Regions from separate parts of the Homo sapiens genome. Here region 2 is linked to region 1. The links are contacts of gene promoters, found by promoter capture Hi-C in blood cells and fetal thymus (Javierre and others, 2016). All regions are on one chromosome and are shown on one strand. The core of a region is centred on a gene start or on the middle of the fragment in contact, and the rest is flanking DNA. Distances in the headings are between cores, read along the strand shown.

Evidence for each region. The method cuts DNA at HindIII sites, captures the fragments that hold promoters and counts their contacts. A CHiCAGO score of 5 or more calls a contact.
Region 2: a contact is called between a fragment that was not itself captured here and the fragment with the promoter of FBXL14 in region 1, in 3 of 17 cell types (total CD8 T cells, M0 macrophages and naive CD4 T cells). The highest score is 6.6, in total CD8 T cells.

Annotation. Positions count from the first base shown.
Region 1 is chr12:1,593,024-1,596,735 of GRCh38, forward strand. It overlaps FBXL14 (F-box and leucine rich repeat protein 14), which reads right to left and starts at 1,558. Exons shown (of 2, transcript NM_152441.3): 1 at 1-1,558. The coding sequence starts at 1,043. RefSeq lists enhancers at 1-115, 633-822, 2,193-2,262 and silencers at 33-82, 1,063-1,932. The HindIII fragment of the contact is 12,621 bases long and covers 1-3,712 here.
Region 2 is chr12:1,131,349-1,135,060 of GRCh38, forward strand. The region is part of intron 7 of ERC1 (ELKS/RAB6-interacting/CAST family member 1); the gene reads left to right. Among named protein-coding and RNA genes, the nearest start is that of ERC1, 140 kb to the left of the region's middle. The HindIII fragment of the contact is 1,344 bases long and covers 1,446-2,789 here.

The sequences.
Region 1 (3,712 bases), core at 308-2,807:
AGGCCCTTGTCCGTGATGCGCACACACTGTCCAATGTTGAGCGTGCGCAGCCCGTGCATCTGCCGCACCATGCGGTTGATGCCATCATCACTGATGTGGCAGGAGCAGAGGGAGAGAGACTTGAGGCCATCCAGCCCCTGGGCTATGTAAGCCAGACTCTGGTCTCCCACCTTGTCACAGAACGAAACATCCAGCCCCGAGAGGCGCAGGCTGCCCATGGCCAGATGCATGATGCCCGTGTCACTGATGTTGTCACAGGAGCGCAGGTTGAGGCTGCGCAGGCTGCCCATGTGCGACAGGTGCAGGAGGCCAGCGTCCGAGATTCCCCCACAGAAGCTGAGGTTGAGGAGCCTCAGGCCCGTCAGCCCTCGGGAGATGTGCTTTAGAGAAAGATCTGTGAGCTTCTGGCAGTCCTGTAGCGTGAGCTGCTCCAGGCCCAGGCAGCCCTCCGCCGCGCTGCGCGTCATGCCGGCCAGGTGCCCGATGCCCACATCCGAAAGGTGGCGGCAGCTGCGGAGGTTAAGGCTCTTGAGGCGCTGCAGACCCCAGGCGATGAGCAGAAGGCCAGTGTTGGTGATGTTGCTGCAACCTCCCAGCTCCAGCACCTCCAGGCCCTTGAGGTACTGGGCTATGCGGCCCAGGCTGCTGTCAGTGATCTGCTTGCAGAGGCTCAGGTTGAGAGCGCGCAGGGAGCCGATCTCCTGCACAAACGCGTGGCCCAGCCCGTTGTCGGTGAGGTTGTAGCAGCCGCTGAGGTTGAGGCTCTCGATGTTGGCCATGCCCTGGATCACGTAGCTGAGGCTGCGGCGGAGGCTCAGGATCTGCACCCGGCGGATGCCCCGGGCCTGCAGGCTGGGGAACAGCGACGGGTTGGCCCGGCGCAGGTGCAGCTTGGCCTCCACCCCCCGCCACACCGACTTGTGGTAGGCGGCGTCCCGCCAGGCGGTGCACACCTGCGCCGCGCGCCCCTTGTCCCGGACGTCCAGGTAGCCGAAGATCATGGCCAGCAGCTCCGGGAACAGGCATGAGATGTGGGTCTCCATCTTCCTCCTCCCCCCTCCGCGGCGCTGGGGGGAGGAGGCGCGGGCCCCGCCGCTCCGGCCTCGGGCAGGCGACGAGAGCGCTTCTCCCCAGCCGCCGCCGCCGCCGCCGCCGCCGCCTCGGGCCCAACGGCCGGCCCCTCCCCGCCTTCCGGCTCCGGCCGCCGCCGCCGCTCCTCCTCCTGGTCCGTCCGTCCTTCCTTCCTGCCGGCTGCGCCTCCGGCCCGGCCCTCCCCCGCCCCGGGCTCCGCACGGCGCTCACATCCCGGGCGGGGAAGGCGCCTCGCTCTCGCTCCCGGAGGCCGGCCGCCGCCGCCGCCTCGGCTCTACCCACGCCGCGCCCGGGCCGCGCCGCTCCGCCCGCGCCGCCGCGCCCACGCCCCCTGCCGCATCCTCCGCCTCCTGCCGCCGCCGCTGCTCCGCGGGCCGGCGGGCGGCGAGGGGGCCCCGGGGGCCGGGCGCACGGGCTCCGGGCGCGGAGGAGGCTTCCTGCTGCCTTTGTCTCTCGCCCGCTTTTCAAACCTCCCAGCCCCGGGCCGCCCGCACTCCGCCGCCCAGGCGGGGGGACCAGGAGGCCAATCCCGGCCGGCGGCGTGCGTTCCTTCTCCCCCGCCGTCCGCGGCCACTTGGGAGCTGCCGGCCCCCGCACCAAGGACGCCGCGGCCGTCCGGCCGGAGCGCGGCTCGGCGCAGACCCCGGGCGAGCAGGCGGGCCGTGCGTTTGGTAGCGCCCGGGCCGGCCCCGGCTCCGCCGCCCTGCAGCGCGTCCCCTCCGCCGCTCCCGCTCCCCCGCGCCCGCGCAATGGTACGGGCCTGCGCTGCCGGAACTGTGGAGCCGTTGCCCTGGAAACCGAGTTCGGCCTGGTCCCGTGGCCCCTGATTTTTAACCCTGTGGGCGCCACGGGGGAGCGGCAGCTGTCAGCAGAGCGCCTCCCCACCCGGCTTCTTTTCACCCGGTAGCCCGTTATTGAGCCGTTCCCTCTCTGGGCCACGCCCCAGCCCCGTTCCTTCTTTTTCTTTGCTGTTGAAGTCTGCGCAGCCCCTTCCCACAGTTTACCCCTGCAATTCGTTACCCTTATTTCACACCCCTCTCCCTTGATTATCCCTGCGAGAGCCGCCTCCTATAGCAGTGCTCAATAATCGTCACCCCAACTCTCCTTTTCTTACTGTCCCTAATGCCCCTTAACGCCTCATTATCACACCCCCTGCTCCCCCGGTTGGGGCTGTTTACTACGACGCCTTTCTCTCCAGTCTTGTGTCTTAAATTGGAGAGAAACTCGGCTGTACTCATCTTAAACAATGACCCCCTCCAGTCGGTGTTCTAGAAATTTCTAGAATTATCCATGACTACTTCCTTCTAGCATCTTCTGATGGTTTCCAGACACGCTGTGTGTGTTTCCCTCGGTACTTGATACATCAAAACTTCCCTCTACTTCTGAACGCTGCTGCGCCACCAATGCCCTCAGTCCGCTTTGCTTACAGGGGAACAGCCTTCCCCTAAGCCTTGTTTTAGGAGCTTTCTCCTTGTCATCAGCCTTAGACTATCAGTTGTATGGCTCAGTTGTACTGATAGTCAATATATTCGTATATGCTGAATCCAATTTACTTTTTGATTAAAATGGAATGACAGTTGAACTTGGTTTAAGACAATCCAGTCGTGTCTGTTGGTTTATCAACCGTTTTATGGAAGCAGGGCACAATTCCATTCTAGGATGTAGCCCCTGGGTCCTAAATGTCCGTACTAAGGATAGAATTTCAGAAGTTTCATTTTAACTACCCCCAAACCAAGAATTTTTGGATCAGAGAAAATGATCCTCTGTATTTTAATTTATGGATCCACACAACTAGATACAAGACCAGCGGATTTATCAGAAAGGGAAAATGGTTTCATTGATTCTTTGAGGACCTGAACAAGATTTGGAAGGGGTTCCATATTCAGTGTAGGAGAGTAACTTTTGCCCAAGCAACCACTATTAGACCAAATACATACAGATTCAGTAATAGGCATAATACACCTTTTACACCCCTACCACTCCTCTTTCCTAAATCAGGAAATGCAGAAGCAAAAATTCTCGCCAGCTTGTTACCTCACCCACATTACACGCAGTGTGGAGCCCATAGATTTTTATAACCTTCTTGAAAAAATAGACTGTACTGTTAGTCATCCAGTACATCCAGATGTACGGTGGCAGTAAGTGTCACGATTCTGGGGTATGCCTGGGCTTCACTCTTCTCCTGGAGGTTATCTAGGCTTTTATTCTTCTCAGTCACTTCTGCCTAAACGTTTACCTTAAATTCTGCGCAAAAGTCACTTTTTGATTGTTCTGTGCACCTAGATGTGTTTGGGTTGATGTCAAGGCCTTAATCCAAAGCACCTTAGTGTAACTTAATCCTGCTTAATAAAAAACAAAGTACCCCACACATTTGGGGGGAATTTTAGACAAGGGGCCTGACCAGCCTCGGACTAAGAAGGAGCCTAATGGTTTTCCTTCTCTAGAAAGGCCCTTGTTCTCAAATCTGAAGAGTCATTCAGAGGTATCTGGAAGCACTTTCTCTAGAAGTTGGCCATCTGGTCCTCGTTCTAACAACAGTTTTTCTTGAATTCTAGAATCTTATTAACACAAAGCCTTTTATTTAAGGCACTCAAGTATATATTATAAGGATTTTCAGCAA
Region 2 (3,712 bases), core at 868-3,367, 460 kb before region 1:
GGAATGATAGGAAACAAGCCACATATCCATGCAACTAATTATTACTACTAATTTGCCTTTAGATAGATCTGTTTATTGATTTAAAACAAAGGAAAGTTAAGGTACGTTGAGAGAATTGGTTTTTTTTAATTGAGGCAGAGTCTCTCTCTGTCACCCAGGCTGGAGTGCAGTGGCACAATCTTGGCACACTGCAAGCTCCACCTCCCGGGTTCGCACCATTCTCCTGCCTTAGCCTCCCGAGTAGCTGGGATTACAGGTGCCCACCACCACACCCAGCTAATTTTTTTGTATTTTTTTTAGTAGAGATGGGGTTTCACCCTGTTAGCCAGGATGGTCTCGATCTCCTGACCTTGTGATCCGCCCCCTTGGCCTCCCAAAGTGCTGGGATTACAGGTGTGAGCCACCGCGCCCAGCCAGAATTAATTGTTTTTTGATCAGAAGTGAGAGGCCAAAACAGTAGGGTAGCCATTTTCTGTTCACTTCCATTGGTAGAGAAAACCTTGTAGACAAAAGCCTTCTGTTTTTATTGAAGTTGGCATGACCTGTTTGCTACAGACAAACTTGGCAAGTTGGGCGAATGCTGTTCCTGCAGCTCTGCTGGTGTGAATAAACAAGGTTTTATTCCTCCTGCCAGGACTGGTGTCAGGGCAATGACTGTGTGTGTCCTGCTGGTCTTTGAGGGGTTTTCCTGAATATGTTTTTTGTGGTTTGTAAAATATGGACCTCACGCAAAATTATACTACAAATTTAGTTCACTCCAAACCAAAAGATCAGTGTAGAATTCAGAGCAATTAATCTGGTAGTAGCAAAGTGGTTTTTGTGGTGGTTTTTATCTCAAATCTCCAGACTAGCATATTTGAATTCTGTACTGCACAAAAAAGCAGACTAAGACAAAGTGTACACAGGTGATGTGAATTGAATACTTAGTCAATAAAAGATCATTTAATAATTAGGGGTATGGACGGGCAGTTTCTGTTCCTAATATTTATTATATGAAATATTTTTTGTATCAAAGCCTGTGTTTCCAGCCACACTTATACTAAAGGTTTGTATGTTTATAACAAGAGTTCTTATTCTTTCCCTTTTCAGTCACCTTTTTCGGTCACCAATTCATACTTGACACTCTCTCAGTGCCGTGCGGGTATTTATGTCCGGTCAGCATTGACATGTTTCCAGGTCACTTAACTGAATCATGGATCCAATATAAAGTGCAGCTTGGGCATCTGGGTGCCTTTCATAAAGAGGCAGCAATGTGGGGTCTCACAAATGTTGTCCTGTGTGATGGTGGTGCCATCAGAATGAAAAACACTTAGAAGTGATGAGGGATGTGTTCCTACATACAGATCCATGTCCCGCAGATGGAAAGGCTTTTTTCTGAAATTAATGCTTAGAAGAACTGAGAGACAAGAAAATTAGGCAGTTGAGACTTCAGGTTTGAATGCCTAAGCTTTTTGCCTTTGTAGTAAGAATTTGTGTATTTAGGACATACAGGATAAAATAATGTGGGTTTTTTTTTTTTTAATTGAGACGGAGTTTCGCTCTTGTCACCCAGGCTGGAGTGCAGTGGCACAATCTTGGCTCACTGCAACCTCCGCCTCCTAGGTTCAAGTGATTCTCCTGCTTCAGCCTCCCGAGTAGCTGGGATTACAGGCATGCACCACCACGCCTGACTAATTTTTCTGTATTTTTAGTAGAGACGGGATTTCACATTGTTGGCCAGGCTGGTCTTGAACTCCTCACCTCAAGTGATCCACCCACCTCGGCCTCCCAAAGTGCTGGGATTACAGGTGTGAGCCACCACACCTGGCCGGTTTTTTTTTGTTTGTTTGTTTTTAATGAGGTGCTTTGTTTTTTGCTTTTGGTTAGAGGTAGTGGTAGATTAATATATAGTATACAAAATACAGATTAGCATGTAGTAATTAGATGCAAATGATTATGTGATTTATTTATTTTTCAAATTTCTGACATGTATACTTTTCTAAGGCTTTGACCTCCTTAACTGTGTAGAAGGGTCACCAGATTCAGTAAGCACCTTCGCCATGACTGATGCCTTGTAATGGGTTCAGCTAATAGGAACCAAACCTGACACTGTCAAATAGGATTAGTAGCAACACTGGCTGGCTTGAGCTGTGCCTGAATGCCAGTGGATAAGGGTCAGTGGGTTCTTTGGCATCTTGAGCAGCCTGGTTGTTGAATTTCATATTCCACTAAGGTCTTTACTCTGTGGTTGCAATCCTTTTCTTTTAACTGAATCAATATTCAGTCTGTTCTGACACTTCCCTTTTGGACCTTTTTTTGTTTGCATGGCGGAGTGTTGTGATTTTTACTCTCTTGGCAAATTTCAGGTATATAATACAGCATTATTAATTACACGCTGCTGTATATTAGATCCCCAGAACTTACTCGTTTTATAACTGAGGGTTTGTACCCTTTGATCAGCATCTCCCCATGCCTCTCCCTGTTCCTATCCCCAGCCCCTGGTAACCACCATTCTCTTCTCTGTTTCTTTGAGTTCAACTTTATTCAGATTCCATATGTAAGTGAGATCATACCGTAATCTGTGTTATTTCTGATCTCAGTTTTCACTGAATGCTTTTTGTCCTTGTATTATGAGTTGTGTTTTTCTGCTTCTTTGCTTGTCTGGTGAGTTTGGGTTGGATGCCAAGCATTGTGAGTTTTACCTTGTTGGGTGCTAGGCATTTTGTATTCCTGTAAATATTACTGAACTTTGTTTTGTGATGCTGGTAAAATACTTGGAAATAGTTTCATTCTTTTGGGTCTTTCATTTAAGCTTTGTTAGATGGTACCAAAATTGCATTTATTCTAAAGCTAGTCTCCTCGTGCACCCCCTCCCCCTTGATTATATTAAAGAGATTTGCAAAAATTTAAAACAATTATATTCTTCTTACTATTTTAGGGGGAAAATACAGGTTTTTGAAATTAAAATGTTACTTTGATTAACATAATGGGTTTATTGTTATTTAAAAGCTGTTCTAATTTTTTTTTTTTTTTTAAAGATACAGTGTCTTGCTTTGCTACCAAGGCTGGAGTACAGTGGTGTGATCATAGCTCACTGCAGCCTTGAACTCCTGGGCTCAAGCGATCTTCCTGCTTCAGCCCCCTGAGTAGCTAGAACTATAGGTGTGTGCCACCACACTTGGCTAATTAAAAAAAATTTTTTTTTGTAGAGATAGTGTCTTGCTATGTTGCCCAGGGAGGTCTTGAACTTTTGGCCTCAAGTGATCCTTCTGCCTCAGCCTCCCAAAGTGTTGGGATTACAGGTGTGAGCCACCGCACCTGGCCCTAATTTTGAGTGTAGCAAATATTGATAGATATAACTCACATAAATAAAAACTCAATAATTGGGGGTCCTCAGTAACTTTTTTTTTTTTTTTTTGAGACATAGTTTTGCTCTTGTTGCCCAGGCTGGAGTGCAATGGCGTGATCTCAGCTCACTGCAACCTCCGCCTCCCGGGTTCAAGTGATTCTCCTGCCTCAGCCTCCTGAGTAGCTGGGATTACAGGCATGCGCTACCATGCCTGACTAATTTTGTATTTTTAGTAGAGACAAGGTTTCTCCCTGTTGGTCAGGCTGGTCTTGAACTCCCGACCTCTGGTGATCTGGCCACCTTGGTCTTCCAAAGTGCTGGGATTACAGGCCTAAGCCACTGTGCCCTGCCGGTCCTCAGTAATCTTTAAGAGTGCTGAGGAGT